Linked DNA regions of Homo sapiens: region 2 is linked to region 1. The links are contacts of gene promoters, found by promoter capture Hi-C in blood cells and fetal thymus (Javierre and others, 2016). All regions are on one chromosome and are shown on one strand. The core of a region is centred on a gene start or on the middle of the fragment in contact, and the rest is flanking DNA. Distances in the headings are between cores, read along the strand shown. Region 1 holds the start of NTN4 (netrin 4). Region 2 has its middle 19 kb from the start of USP44.

Region 1 (7,710 bases), core at 1,443-3,942:
GGGTCCTCATTTAGAGGGAGGCAAAGCTAGAGACCTTTGGAGTTCAGATGTGCACTATCAGTTTCTAACATTACATAAACATAACTAAGAAAAAAACTCTCTGAACTGCCAAATGGCAGAAAAGCTTATTTTACATGCTGTCTCTTCAGGGTTTCTACCTGTGACAGGTTATAGAGTAGTTAACTGTTTGCTTAACAGGAGAGTGTCTACAGTCTGGCAGCCACTAACAGCACCTTTAAATATTATCTGTGAACTACAAGACCTTCTTTAAAAAACACACTTTTCCTCCCAAAGGTCCAACAGACTTTAATGTTTTAAAATGACTTAAAATGATAAACATTATCCACTTATTAACATTCTGAGTACATACTATAATCCTTTGATTTGCGTTTGTCATTTTAATTGTGAATACCTTAAGCAAAAATCATCTATTTTAAAGGTTAAAACAGAGGGGGAAAGAGGGAAAAGGAAATCAACCCTTAAATTCTGGCTAATTGAATGTTTCTGCTGCTTAAGAAGCAGTACCTCTGAACTGTTGTCATAGTAAGGATTGGAGGAGGCCAAATGACAGCTTAGGCTGCAACAGAGACATTTCACACACTGACAATGGCCAACCCCACGAAGCCTTGCAACTAAAGGGCTTCCTTAGGCATTATTTTTTAAATGTCAAATTAAAGTGTGCATTATGCCTGGGTTCTGTTTGCCACTTTTCTCATTAGCTGGGGCAACAGTTGCTTGTGGCCAGAAGCACACAAACACACAATGTGCTATGACTCACCTGTAAAAAATTTCAAGGAAAATCATATACTGCCTGTACAAGTATTTTTGACTTGAAACACTTGCCTTGTGATGTTTATTTACAACCTTTCAATGGCTTGCATGTTTTTGCCATAATATGGTTTGAGAAGGAAAAGGTTTTTTTTAAAGCTCATATTTTAAGAGTGCAAGAATTAAAGTAAAATCTTAGGCCTTTAATAGGTCCCTGGGAAAAATATCCAATAATTTTAAATGCCCCTAAACTCCTAAGTCCAGAAAAGATTTGAGCCAGATAAAGAATCCATGGGGCAAAATACTTGGAGTCACTCAAGGGACTATTCAATGATACTAAGGATGCTCCTGTGACTTGGACTGGTTTGGGATGCAGACTGGAAAGCCTGGATTTTGCTGGGTGCCAGCGGCCCTCAGGGAAGAGTGGAAGCCCAAGGGAGGAGATGCGTGCTACAATGTTCTGTAGCCACCAGCGCATCCCTCTAGCCCAGGCGCCCCTTTCTGAAGCAGTCAAGATCCGCACGAGAGACTGGATGTCTGCAGACTCCCTCACATCTCTCCCCCTCACCTACAGGGCTGCGCTTACGCCTAACTGGAAACCAGGTGACCCGCAAGAGGGAGGGAGAGGAGCAGAAGGGGCTCCCGAATACAGAAACCACGAGCCAGGAGCCGGTGGCCTAGGGCAGCCCAAGAAAGCCAGGATGGGAGTGGGAGGGAGAGGGCATCTGCCGACGCCGACGCCGGTTGTCCAGTTACCGAGCCAGGGAGCAGACCCGCCTCCGACCTCCCGCAGAGTCTCTGCCAGGGTACCAATTCCCCAGGGGCGGCCAGCCAGCTCAATGCAAGCCCGGGGTGATCACCACCTATCGTCCAAGCCAGGAGTCCCACTGCGTTCCAGTCACTGCTCCGGGGAGAGGGCGCTCAGCCCTGCCCCAGGTGTCCTTACCTGGTTCTCTAGTACCCAGCACCAGGTCAGGGACACCAGCGATGGGCTTCTACCAGAGACCGGCCCCAGCCCACGCGCGCCCAGGGTCGCTGGGCCACCCCTCCTCATCATTCCTTAGGCCATGAAGTGCCGGGGGATGGCGAGCTGGGTCCTTTGTTCCCTCACCAAGTGGAAAAGCAGTTTTTTAACAAGCCAAACCAAGAAAGAAACCCCGGTCGCAGTATCCCCGGCAGGGCGCACCCAGGATAGCTGGTTATCCAAGCGCATGTGTATCCCAGTTGTAAAAATAAATCAATAGTATTTGAAACTGCGGAGCCCCGGGGAAAGGAGGCGGAACATGGCCACTCATTTCACCCTCGGGAGCAGCGCTCTGCGCTCGCAGCCCTGGCTCCCCTGCACCCCCGAGTCCCGAGATGGGTTAGAGAAGCAGCGAGGGAAGGGGTGGGGGCCCCGCCGCGTCACCACCCACCTGCGGCCACCACCGTGCAGCCCCAGAGCAGCAGCAGCCGCGCGCAGCTCCCCATGGCCGGGAGGAGCCGGGAGCAGCCGGGCCGGGCGGGTGCCGGAGGGAGCCGAGACCTCTGGGCTGCGGGATGAAGCGCCGCCGTCCTCGGGAGGGAACGGGGCCCTGGTTTCTTCCTCCTCCTGGGGCGCCGGGCTCGGTCAGCGGTCGCCGGCAGCTGGGAGCCAGGGGCCGGGACCGCGCGGGGAGGTGGGGTGACCCTCGCGCACCGGCCTGGCGGGTCCCGGGCACCTGGGGGGCGGCGGGAGCCCCGGGACCATAGCCGGCCTGGCTGCGCTGCCCCGCGGAGCGGCCCTGCGGGCTCGTCTGCCGCTAGCCCGGGGCTCGGCGCCCGCAGCCGCCGCTGAACTTTGCGAGACCTTTCACTTCCCGGCCGCCGCCGCCGCCTCCTCCTGGGCGTCCTCCTCCGCTTTTCCCACCTCTTCTGGCTGCCCCGGCTCCGTCCCGTCCTTCTCCACGGGCAGTTCCATGCGATGCATTTTTATTGCACCGACGCCGCGGCGCTCCGGTGCCAGCCCTCCTCCCCTCGCACCTCCACCCCTTCCTCCCGCCCGCCCCCCGCGCTTGACAGCCCGGGCGGCGCAGCCCGCGGGATCGGATCGCCGCTGCCGCTGCCGCCCGGGGGGGGGGTCCCCCGCGCCCCGACCGACGCCCCCGACGCCCGGCTGCCCGCTGGTCCCGGTCGCCTCAGCCTGGCCCCCGGCTGCCCTGGCGCCCCTCCTGGCCCGCGCCCTGCATCTCCCTAGTGACCCCCCTGGTGCCCTGCAGCACCCACAGGCCTCCCCTGGGAAGCAATCTCCCACCTTCTCCCGGAACATTCCTAAGAGCAGTAGACTCCCTCTAGATCAGGTCAGGGCATGCCAAGGGGCTTAAAAAACCGCGAAACAGGCTAGCGCCTACTTCCCACATCCCCCAGCGAAACAAGCCCTCCCTCCTCCTCCAGCCACCCCCTCTCGGGGAGTCCCACGACCCGGGGACGGAACACCCCAACCCAGCCCCGCGTCACCCGCACTGAGAGCGCGCCAACTGCTAAGCGGCGTTCGCCGCTTCTCTGCTGCCTTTTGCGGGGGTAGGGGGATGTCTCGGCTAAACAATCGCTGCCTACATGATCCGAAGGTGTGCCCACTTTGGTGTAAGAGGTATTGCCTAACTCAAACTCAAGGTGCTGAAAGAAAAGGGTCACAGGATTAGCTAGTCGGCAGTGTAAGAACATCGTTGTCCAGAGGCAGGGCAAGGGCACGACAAAGGGAACTCTTCGGTCCTTCCAAGCGTTCTCCCTTTATAGAGTATGCCGTGCTGTGAAACAGTGTTAGGAACTAACTTATGGGGAGCAATTTAGTAGCAACCACACGCAGCTAATTGCAGATAGGATTGCTCAGGGCTGGTGCTTCTGGAAAGAGATTAAATAGCAGCCGAGTCTGAGATTTTTGCAAGTTCTGTGAAAATATAATTCTACTTACACATCCAGGGAAACTGGCAAAAGTTAAGTCGACAGCAATTTTGTATTGCAGTGCTCATTTTGTTCCTTTGAATATTTTCCAGAAAATTAACTACGTTCCAGATACCATTTAGTCGTTGTGTCTGTTACAGATGAGGATAATTCAGAGCTTTGGGATACATGTAGATATTATTTACAATGACCCAGCCAGGAACATATAAGAAGTTTATATCTCCCAGGGGGATCTGGGTTGAGGTCAGCATAATCCATTTGGGCGACATTAAAATTATTCTTCTGGCCAACAGAGGAAAGTAGCAGAAGGTGTGGACAGCAATTCATGTAGCATCACCTGCTTTAGAAAATAAACGCTTTGAGTTCCCAAATACTGGCAATGGTGGGGCTTTCTTCATATCTCCTAATGGAGCCATTGAAACACCTCTCCAATTAATCTTTTTACCAAATAAATGATAGGAAACTATAACAGCCAAAGGTTCTTAGCATAAATGTTAACTTAATAGCCAAGGCAAATTAAACAAAGGGGTGGATGCACATTTATTATTAACTTCTGAGTCTAGTATATTTAGGCAGAACTAATCCATTTCTGTTTTTTAATTAACAAATAAACTTGTATGTATTTATCATGTACAACATGATGTTTTGAAATATGTATACAGCGTGGAATGACTAAATCTAGCCAATGAACATATGCATTTTTGCATATTAACATGCATTTAAGAATACACTCACTGTCTTAGCATTTTTCAAGAGTACAATATATTGCTAAAAATATAGAATGCTTCACAAATTTGTATGCCATTCTCATGCAGAGGCCATGCTAATCTTCTCTGTATTGTTCCAATTTTAGCATATGTGCTGCCAAAGCAATCACAGAACTACTCCATATCTCATTACAAATTTCAAAGCCATTTACTGTCTGCACGAATCCTGCATTGATAATATATTTCTTTGCTGAATAACTGGCTCTTATTTCCTTTAACAAGACAGAAAGCTCTCTAATGGTAGAACAGTCTTTAATATTCAGTTTATACAAAACATTACTATGTTTTTCTGATATTTTTCCTTATTCTTAGCCAAGAACACCTACAATAAGTGTTCATTACATGTTTTTGACTGAGTTGTGTTAAAACTATTGTTATATACTAAGGGGCTAAGGAGACTAAGGACTAAGGAGAAAACCAGTTATATCACAATGATTTCCCATATTCAAAAGGAATCTGCACATTCGACACCAATACTATCTATATGAAAAGCTCAGGAGAGAAAAATAGTCAGCATTCTAATAAACATCATTTGCTTATATAGTCCAGTTTAGTTACAAAGGATATTTTCATTTTGAAGAAGCTATCCAAGAAAAGGTTACCTACATAAGAAAAATCTTGGATAAGTATATTATTGCCTATGATTTTGTTTTTGAAAACATCAGTCATGGATTCAGAATATTTTGTAATTTTATGAATTAGTAGGAAGCTTAGCAAACTTACAGAATTTCAATAACAATTCCCAGAAACCACAAAATTGATAAGTTAAATCTAGAATATTCCTGAGAACTTGAAAGGAAGTTAAAAGGGTCTTTAAAAAGTAAAATAAATGGCATAGCCAGGCGTGGTGGCATATGCCTCTGGTCCCAGCTACTTGGGAGGCTGAGGTGGGAGGATAGCTTGAGCCTGGGAGGTCGAGGCTGCAGTGAGCTGTGTTGGCACCACTGTACTCCAGCCTGGGCAACAGAGTGAGACCTTGTCTCAAAATAAATAAAATAAAATAAATGGCAAAACTCTTTGCACCAAAGACTTTACTCACAGGAGAGCCCTTCAGGACCTCACTTAAATCATTCATGTATTTTTATTAAGTTTGGTTATGACATCTTTCTAGATCACAGCCTATTAGAAGTAACAGATTAGAATGGAGCAGGATGTTATTAAAGACAGGGGATAAACTGAGGCAATCCAGTAATGAGAAGGATGGGAAAACTCTAAAAAGCAGCCATAAGTACAAAAACAAAACCAAAACATCCACAGCAGTCTGAGGCCTTCTAGTGCAGAAACAAAGGACGAAAAAGCTATAAAGGCATCACTCTCCGGTAACTTAGTAGAGTAAGTGAGGTTCCTAGTGGAGCGTAAGACATTCAGAATCAGGAGGGACCCTTGAGCCCAACTTCTCACTCCATCAAAACCCCTTTCCACAAAGCCTCTGTCCAAAGGTCATCCAGTTTCTGTTCTAAAAATCTCCATAAACAAGAGCCTCAAAGGCAATTCTGCTCATTTTTGGCACTGTTGTTCTATTTAAGTGGGATGTTTCTCTTCTTAAAATTCTGTGTTTATAGGTTAGTCATCTGCAACCATACAGAATAAGTCCAATTTCTCTTCTGGTAGGTATTCAATGATTTAAAGTAAAGTTTTAATAATTTTCATCTTAACTATCCTTTTAGTTTAAACACCCATATGACAGGATTCCCACACTTTTCACCATCTTAATCACCTCTTTTCAGATATACCCCAGCTTGTCTTACACTGTGCATGTAGAACTCAACTCCAGGTTTGTCTGATCAACATAGAATAGAACTAACATTTTCCTTAACTTAGCTCTATGGCTTATATTTCTGTAACCTAATGTGATGTTGGCTGGTATATTTGAAGTCAGCTAAAATCCTTTTTTCATATATTGGTATCTTACAGAGTCATCAATAAAAGGTAAAATATATTTTGTTTTACCAGAGGGAAATATTTCCATTAAAATACATTGCATGTAGTAAGCATTCAATAAACATGAATTTGAAGAATAAATCAACAAATTTAAGCTGCTAAGTTTGAAAAATGGTTACAAATTTTAAAAGAAACTTTTAGTTTTCAAAGAACTAATTACCTATTTTCTGAAAAGGTGATCACTTTTATGGAAAATTTGACTCTTCAACAATACCATTTGCAACTGGCATTATTATACATTTCCAAGAAAAAGAAAGACTCTGAAAATAGTGATATTTTTAGTATACCTAGTGTTTTTTCTCCATGGAAGTATAAACATGATCTTATTTATCCTCACAGCATCAATGTGTGGGAGGGAACAGGAATAGTTGTGCCCATTTATACAAAGAGAAAGTGAGATGAAAGATGTAAGTGCCAAACTTAGATCATACAATAAATACACACTGAAGATAGGACCTGGGTTTTCAGATAAAAAAAAAAAAATCATTGCTTATCCATCAATTTTCCATGAATACAATCTTCTCTCTCTTTGAACTAGAAGACTACTGGGAGAAGATAAAATGGAGAATTGTTTTCATTAAAATAATCCTAGATTTTGTTTTCTACCTGGACTGTGCCCTTTGAATGCCCTTTAAAAACATCATCTTGGGAATTTCCTTAAGCTTTAACTTAAGCCTCCTGCCATGGGCGCTCTTTCTTATTTCATGTGCTTCCTGGCTTCAGCTGCTCATTCCTAGGAAGGGAGGGAGTGAGAGGCTTTGAAAATACACATGCTCTTCCAGGAAGGTAACCATACTTTTCTAAAAAAAAAAAAAAAAAAGCACGCATGCTCTCTCATGTTGAAATTAATTATATGAGGGCAAGAAATTTTTTTAAAAAAACAAAAACAAAAACCAAGAACAGTTGTGTTGTTATTACAGATATAGCTACCATTGACAGCATTATATTGACACACATTTCTAAATGGCTCTTAGCTAAAACTTTCTGTACCTATTGCTATTTCTGAAATTGATGAAAATCCAACTCAGTAGCTTAACCAAATTGAGATTGATTTTTCTTACAAGACAAGAAGTCAGGAGGTAGACAGTCCAATATAAATGCAGCTACTCAAGGAAGTCATCCAGATTTGTTTGGTGTTCTCCCTCATGGGCACAAGATGGTTTTTCTGCCTCCAGGACGGGTGTTGTTATTCTAGAAAAGAGAAAAGGGTAAAAGATACATGCCAGCTGGCCTTAAAACACTTTCCCAGTAACCTCACCCATCTGCTTATATCTAATTGTCTAGAACTGGGTTACATGGCCTCTTCAGACCATGA
Region 2 (7,710 bases), core at 1,380-3,879, 220 kb before region 1:
ACTACTTAATTTGCGATTTATACTTACACCAGTAAAAATCAAATGTGAATTACATATGTTGTGACGATAAAACAGACTTTTAAAAAATGTGAATTACCTTTTAAGCACTACCTGTTACTATGCATAAGACAGATATTTGACACTGCTTTAATATGGTAATGGTACTCAATATATGGAGTTGCTACTGTTACTGAATTAAGACTTATGCTGTCTTAATACATGAGATACTTTGTTGCTAAGCTTTCCCCCTTCCTCCTCTCCCCCGCCCCACACACAGACATCACCTTCAAGCAGATACCCTTCCTCTTCTCTGCGTTCTCTTCCTGTTCACTGGCCCCTTACCTTCGGCTTTCAAGCATGCATATTTATCCATATCTTGAAAGAAATTGCTTGGCCGATTGCTTCCTGTCTCAACCACATTATTCCTCTTCTTCCTTACGTCATCAGTGAGAAAACTGTATTAGCAGATTTCAGTGGTATAGCAGTAATCTAGTGGGCATACTGTGTTTCACTACAAATGCATTCTTTCTTTCTTTCTTTTTCTTTTCTTTTTTTTTTTTTTTTTTGAGACGGAGTCTTGCTCTGTCGCCCAGGCTGGAGGGCAGTGGCGCAATCTCGGCTCACTACAAGCTCCGCCTCCCGGGTTCACGCCATTCCCCTGCCTCAGCCTCCCGAGTATCTGGGACTACAGGCGCCCGCCACCACACTCAGCTGATTTTTTGTATTTTTAGTAGAGACGGGGTTTCACCATGTTAGCCAGGATGGTCTCGATCTCCTGACCTCGTGATCTGCCCACCTTGGCTTCCCAAAGTGCTGGGATTACAGGCGTAAGCCACTGCGCCCGGCCTAAATGCATTCTCTTTCAATCTCCAATCTACTTAGAGATATGGCTCGCCTCCCCCTGCCGACTTCACTTACCAGTTTGTATTAATTATCAATGGGCTCTGAAGTAATAATGACAGCAAAATATATCCTCAATAGTTTTATATATTGTCAACCACTAATGGAACATTTTTCTTGTTTATGACTTACAGCCATGGCAATAAGACGGTCTCAGTCGTATTTTTCTCAATCCTGTAACTTTCTGTAAACGAGAGCTTTAATAAAAAGTTCAGGCCCGGCGTGGTGGCACACGCCTGTAATCCCAGCACTTTGGGAGGCCGAGGCAGGCGGATCACGAGGTCAGGAGATGGAGACTATCCTGGCTAACACGGTGAAACCCCGTCTCTACTAAAAATACCAAAAAAATTAGCTGGGCGTGGTGGCGGGCGCCTGTGGTCCCAGCTACTCGGGAGGCTGAGGCAGGAGAATGCGTGAACCTGGGAGGCAGAGCTTGCAGTGAGCCGAGGTCACACCACTGCACTCAAGCCTGGGCGACAGAGCGTGACTCCGTCTCAAAAAAAACAAAAAACAAAAAAAGTTCAGAAACATACATTTCTCTCTCTCTCTCTCTCTTCTTCTTCTTCTTTTTTTTTTTATGAGACAGAATCTCACTCTGTCACCCAGGCTAGAGCGCAGTGGTGCAATCTCAGCTCACTGCAGCCTCCACCTCCTGGGTTTGACTGATTCTCCCGCCTCAGCTTTCCAAGTAGCTGGGACTGCAGGAGTGCGCCACCACATCCGGCTCTCTCTCTCTCTCTTTTTTTTTTTTTTTTTTGTATTTTTGGTAGAGACAGGGTTTCACCATGTTGGCCAGGCTGGTCTCCAACTCCTGACCTCAAGTGATCTGCCCGCCTCGGCTTCCCAAAGTGCTGGGATTACAGGCATGAGCCACCGCGCCCAGCCTTTCTCTGATATTTTAAAATCATGACTCTATAATAGTTATTGGTGAATACAAAATGTTGAAAACCTCCGGTTTATACCTGCTGCCTCCATTTTGTTTTCTTTTTCTTTTCTTTCTTTTCTGTCTTTTTTTTTTTTTTTTTTTTTTTTTTTTTGAGACGTAGTCTCGCTCGGTCACCCAGGCTGGAGTGCAGTGGCGCAATCTCGGCTCTCGGCTCACTGCAAGCTCCGCCTCCCGGGTTCACGCCATTCTCCTGCCTCAGCCTCCTGAGTAGCTGGGACTACAGGCGCCCGCCACCTTGCCTGGCTAATTTTTTGTATTTTTAGTAGAGACCAGGTTTCACCATGTTAGCCAGGATGGTCTCGATCTCCTGACCTCGTGATGCGCCGGCCTCGGCCTCCCAAAGTGCTGGGATTACAGGCGTGAGCCACCGCGCCCGGCCACTGCCTCCATTTTCTTTATGTTTGCTTCTTCCTTAGCTGCCTACACTGAGGCTTCCCCTCTTACTGCTTTGGAAATGTTCTCTTGAAACAAAGCTACCAACAATTCCTTTCTTGTCAAATTCAAAAGCCACTGATTTTACTTCACTATTTGCCAACGCTGATCGTGCTTCTTTTCTTGAAACATTCTCTTCATTTTCACTGTCAGACCATACATCATCCTGGATGCATCCGGACAGAATGAGAACTGTGGCTGCTGCTGCTCCTACTGTAATTGTTACTCCTTTTACTTAGTAGTCATCTTTCCTTCACTGCTTACTGTAATTTCCACAGCAACCCTGAGGAGATCGGTATTATTATCCCCATTTTACAGTTGAGGAAACATGCTCAAAATTTAATCAACGGGTTCAAATTCACACACCAGAACAGGATCTGCTCTGGGAAATGTTAGATTTTGCAACGGAAAAGAAGAAAAAGTTTTTTCTAACTGGATCACAGCATACTATGTTGTTTATATTTAGATTAACTAGACTTTGTTTTATTCCATTTATCTGTAGTTTTGGGAAGTACTGTACATTTGGAAAGATGTCATTTCAAGTAATTTTTCTACCCAGGCTGTCCATTTACAATTACCTGGTCACCTTTGAATCACTTTCACCAAAATCAGAGAAGGTGGCTAGATAGCAAGTTGTGATATGCCACTGATTTTTTTTTCTCCCTTTTCAAGTTAAGTGGCTCCTGTAAGAATGGCCATGCAACCTTGGATTTATTCAGAGAATGCTCTAACCACATACACTACATCAAAAAGTATAGTCTCAGAATTTGACAGATGACAATAAAAATTTCCAATTAAACTATGTATTATAAATTGTTCAATTTTTGGCAGAGTGGATCTTATTGAAGGCACCATAATGATAAGGTAGGATTTAGTTACATACTTTAATTACATACATACTTTGTTTTCTCAAGCAAATGTGTAACAATGGTGTGATCTAGCTACAAAATATTTCCTTAAGATTTTTGTTGGCATGTCAGTGCTAACAATTAGGAATTAAGTGTTTTAAATTTAATCTGAAATTAGTGGTTTAAATACAATGATAAATGGTTTTCATGGTTGTCAGCCTTCATTTAATGTTATATTAAACCTCTTGAGTATGTTATACCACTACTTTGTTATTTAACTGATGGATCTGAAAACCCATAAAGATGCAGTATTTGTCTTACAAATAGCAAATGTATAGTCTTTGATTTGATCATTTAATGTACCCTTTTTTACACAGCCATTTGGCTTTAATCCTGTAACAGGTTATTGTCACTTGTCTTTTCTTTATCTACCAAAATGCCTTCAGTCATTTCATGAATAAATCAATGGAGGGAAGAGAGAAATATGAGTTATCCCAAAGATATATTAATGGCATTATTCCAATATAAATGGAATGAGGAAAAGAAGAATTATGCATTAGTAATGATGTTTTTCATTGCAGAGCAATTTCTACCTCGCAAAGGATTTTCATACAGATCCTCTTTCTTCATACTTAGCATTATATAGCTGAGGAAATTATAGTATTAAGTGACTTGTCTGAAGCCACACAGCAAGCATCAGATCTGGAATTAGAAAGCAAGTCTTCTCATGACCAGCCATTGTTCTTTTATAGTTTACCTTATAGATGGCATGAAAGTGACTTTTTTGTGGAATAGTTATTACAACTTCTCACCCCCCAATGTATCTACTTGTGAAAATAATGGGTTTTTTGTTTTGTTTTGTTTTGTTTTGTTTTGTTTTTTGAGACGAGTCTCGCTCTGTCGCCCAGGCTGGAGTGCAGTGGCGCGATCTCGGCTCACTGCAATCTCTGCCTCCCGGGTTCAAGCAATTCTCCTGCCTCAGCCTCCTGAGTAGCTGGGATTACAGGCGCCCACCACCACGCCCAGCTAATTTTTGTATTTTTAGTAGAGACGGGGTTTCACCATGTTGGTCAGGCTGGTCTCGAACCCCTGACCTCATGATCCGCCCGCCTCGGCCTCCCAAAGTGCTGGGATTACAGGCATGAGCTACCACACCCGGCCTGACTTACATGTTAAGGTGTCCAAATTGATTGAGATGTTCTTCTATCATAATTTATAGAATCTCTTCTACCATAATTTACTTCTTAACTGATGACCTTGGAGAATGAGCAGAATAACAGATGAGAAAGGGCTCAGGGAGAAAGAGAAATGTATATGCTCTCACTGGGCATGGTAGCTCATGCTTGTAGTCTCAGCACTTTGGAGGCCCAGGCAAGAGGATTGCTTGAGTTTAGAAGTTTGAGACCAGCCTGGGCAACATAGCAAGACCTCGTCTCTACTAAACATAAAAAAAAAAAAAAAAAAAAAAAAAAAAAAAAAAAAAAAAAAAAAAAAAAAAAAAGCTGAACATGGTGGCACGCCTGTAGTCCCAGCTACTTGAGAGGTTGAGATGGGAGGATCGCTTGAGCCTGGGAGATCAAGGCTGCAGTGAGCTAAGATTGCACCATTGCACTCCAGCTGGGTGGCAGAGTGAGACCCTATCTCTAAAAAAAAAATGTAAAAAAGAGACCGAGATGTATGTGTTCTCTACACTACTCATTATAAGGATGCAGGTGGGGATCAACTGGTTTATAAACAAGGTTTTACTTCCTCTTCCTGATCTGAACTGTATCATCATTTCCTCTATCTTTATTTGATGTGAAATGTATTGATGGTCATATATCAATTTCTTCTGTAGACTCAGTGATACAGGAAGTGTCCTGGTAAGCACTGGCACCCAAAACAGTAAAGATAAAAGCTTTAGTCTGAATTTTGCAGTTGGGAAAGTTGAAGTTGAGGGTGAAATGACTGAGCCACAGTGGGTTACTTAGCTTCCTGATACCAAGGCAGAGCTGTTTCCTCCAGGATTTGGTGACTTAGTAACCTCCTCCTGTTACTAGAAATTTCTCCTTTAGAGAAAACCAAAATTTGCTTCATTGTGATATTTACCCTCTGGGCCTATGTTTGCCCTCCAAGTCTGCATTGAACAAACGACTTTCTCCTTGTCTCCCCTGCATATGTCTTATGCAGCTTAGGGTCAGAAGTGGATTTGATTTCTGAGGAAACATCACCAACCAAGAATCTTTTTGTTTTTCCAGATAGAGGGTTTTGCTCTGTCACCCAGGCTGCAGTGCAGTGGTACCATCACAGCTCACTGTAGCCTCACACTCCTGGGCTCAAGTGATCTTCCCACCCCAGCCTCCTGAGTGTCTGGGATTACACGGGAGCCCCACCATGCCCTGCTATTTTGTTTTTAAATTTTTGTAGAGATGGGGTCTTGTTAGGTTGCCCTGGCTAATCTTGAACTCCTGCCTCAAGCGATCCTCCCTCCCCAGCCTCCCAAAGTGCTGGGATTACAGGTGTGAGCCACTGCACCTGGCTGTCCAAGGGACTTCTAAACAAAGCTTATTTTTGTTATAATAAAAACAAATGAAGATTAAGCAATCTAAAGACAAAGCCTCCTGAGTAGCTAGGACCACAGTGGCCCATCACCATGCCCAGCTAATTTTTGAATTTTTTGTAGGAACAGAGTTTCTCCATGTTGCTCAGGCTGGTCTGCAGCTCCTGGGCTCAAGCGATCCTCCTGCCTCAACCTCCCAAAGTGCTGTGATTACATATATGAGCCACTGTGCCTGGGCTAGTACATTGTGTTTTATCTCACTCTCTCATCTCAGAGGGAGGCTGAGGTAATTTATGCATATACACATGCACACACCCCATTTGTTGGACATCTACAATGTTCCTAATCCTTACAAGTTAGATTTTATTATCCCCATTTTACAGATGAGGAATCTGTGGTTAGATAACTCTTTAAAATCACTCAGCTAGAAAGTGGCTACAGTGGCATTAGAACTAAAAATTCCCATGGGATGAATGCCTTGGCTTTAAGTCCTTGCTCTTTTCACTGTAATATGCTGCGTGTCTGATCACATGGAATATTTGTGGTAAAGGTAAGAAACTTCAGAAGGCCACAGAACTAGTTTTGGAGCTGGAATCAGTTTTATGTTGTCTTGATTTTGTTCCTATTTGCTTGTGTAGTTTGCTAGATGTTACTTGCTTGAAAAGAAGTATCAATTGGGCTCATTTTTCCCCAAGTCCTTACAAACAGTGGTGCCTGTTTGATGCTTTGATTTAAAAAGAAATTGATAGTACCTTTAAGACTGTATGGATGGCAAGCTACTCCAAGGCTGGACTACATCTCTAGTTTCCTGAAAATGATTCCTCTCTAGGATTTACAGTTTGCTGGCTTTTAAGACATAATAGAAAACACAATTCTCTCCTTAAGCCCTGCAAGTCCTTGGCCGGGCGCAGAAGCTCACACCTGTAATCCCAGCACTTTGGGAGGCCAGGGCGGGGGGATCATGAGGTCAGGAGTTCAAGACCAGCCTGGCCAACATGGTGAAACCTCGTCTCTACTAAAAATACAAAAATTAGCCTGGCATGGTGGTGTGCGCCTGTAATCCCAGCTACTCAGGAGGCTGAAGCAGGACAATCGCTTGAACCCGGAAGTTGCAGTGAGCCAAGATTGCTTCATTGCACTCAAGCCTGGGTGACAGAGTGAGACGAGACTCTGGCTCAAAAAAAAAAAAAAAAAAAAAAAAAAAAAAAAAAAAAAAAAAAAAGCCTTGCAAGTCCTGAGGGGGCCCAGTGCTAAGACAAACGGATATGGTCATTTTCCCAAAAGGTTAAGGAGAATAGTTAGGTACAAGAATACCACACACCATCCTCAAACGGACAGAATTTTTGCCAGATACTGTTAATAAGTCAGATTTAATTGATAGATGGGTAAGATCTGAAATAACAGTCAGTCAAAAACAAGGCCTTTATTCTTCAAATCATTCTAAACTCCAAACTTCCCCCAAATGGCTTGAGATCACATTAAAGCCCAAACCTTCCATTTCTAAAGGAACAGAAATACATCGCAGTTCCCCGAATTCTCTTTCCCTTCAGCGTTGCCTGTCTACTCAGTTTAGACTGTTCTGAACTATCAGGCTCCGGGGTGGTGGCAGGCTCTGCTCACCCCAAGCTTTCCATTTTGATCAGTTTAATTCCCTAGGAGCCGACGACTGCCATCGGAAGGAAGAGAAATTGTGAGCTCGCGCTGGGCTGCCGGGGAGGGGAGGGCTGGCCAGTGAGGACTCCTATCTCTGGGGCTGGTCACCCAGCCTCAAACAAATCTGCATCACCCTGGGGGGTCTCACCCCTTTTTCTATGTCAATGATCCCCATTTGTCCCAAGTGCTTGGGGTTTCAGGTCCTGGTGAGCCATTCTCATTTATCTTCCTTTTGTTTTCTGCCTTAACTACTGACAATTATCATTTATTCTGTTCCTTTTAGCTTGGTGGTGAGTGCTGAGGCTTTGCTAGCCTTTCAGTTCCGCCATTCAGCCTCTTTCTAAAAAAAAAAAAAAAAAAAAACTGGGGCTTACCCAGTCTCTGACTAACAA

What was found. The method cuts DNA at HindIII sites, captures the fragments that hold promoters and counts their contacts. A CHiCAGO score of 5 or more calls a contact.
Region 2: a contact is called between a fragment that was not itself captured here and the fragment with the promoter of NTN4 in region 1, in 1 of 17 cell types (endothelial precursors). The highest score is 6.0, in endothelial precursors.

The regions. Positions count from the first base shown.
Region 1 is chr12:95,788,072-95,795,781 of GRCh38, forward strand. NTN4 (netrin 4) reads right to left here and starts at 2,693. Exons shown (of 10, transcript NM_021229.4): 1 at 2,184-2,693. The coding sequence starts at 2,238. It overlaps SNRPF-DT (SNRPF divergent transcript), which reads right to left. Exons shown (of 3, transcript NR_135014.1): 3 at 7,274-7,586. It also overlaps the pseudogene RNU6-247P. The HindIII fragment of the contact is 5,039 bases long and covers 123-5,161 here.
Region 2 is chr12:95,566,707-95,574,416 of GRCh38, forward strand. No RefSeq gene overlaps it. Among named protein-coding and RNA genes, the nearest start is that of USP44, 19 kb to the left of the region's middle. RefSeq lists an enhancer at 7,419-7,548. The HindIII fragment of the contact is 4,783 bases long and covers 239-5,021 here.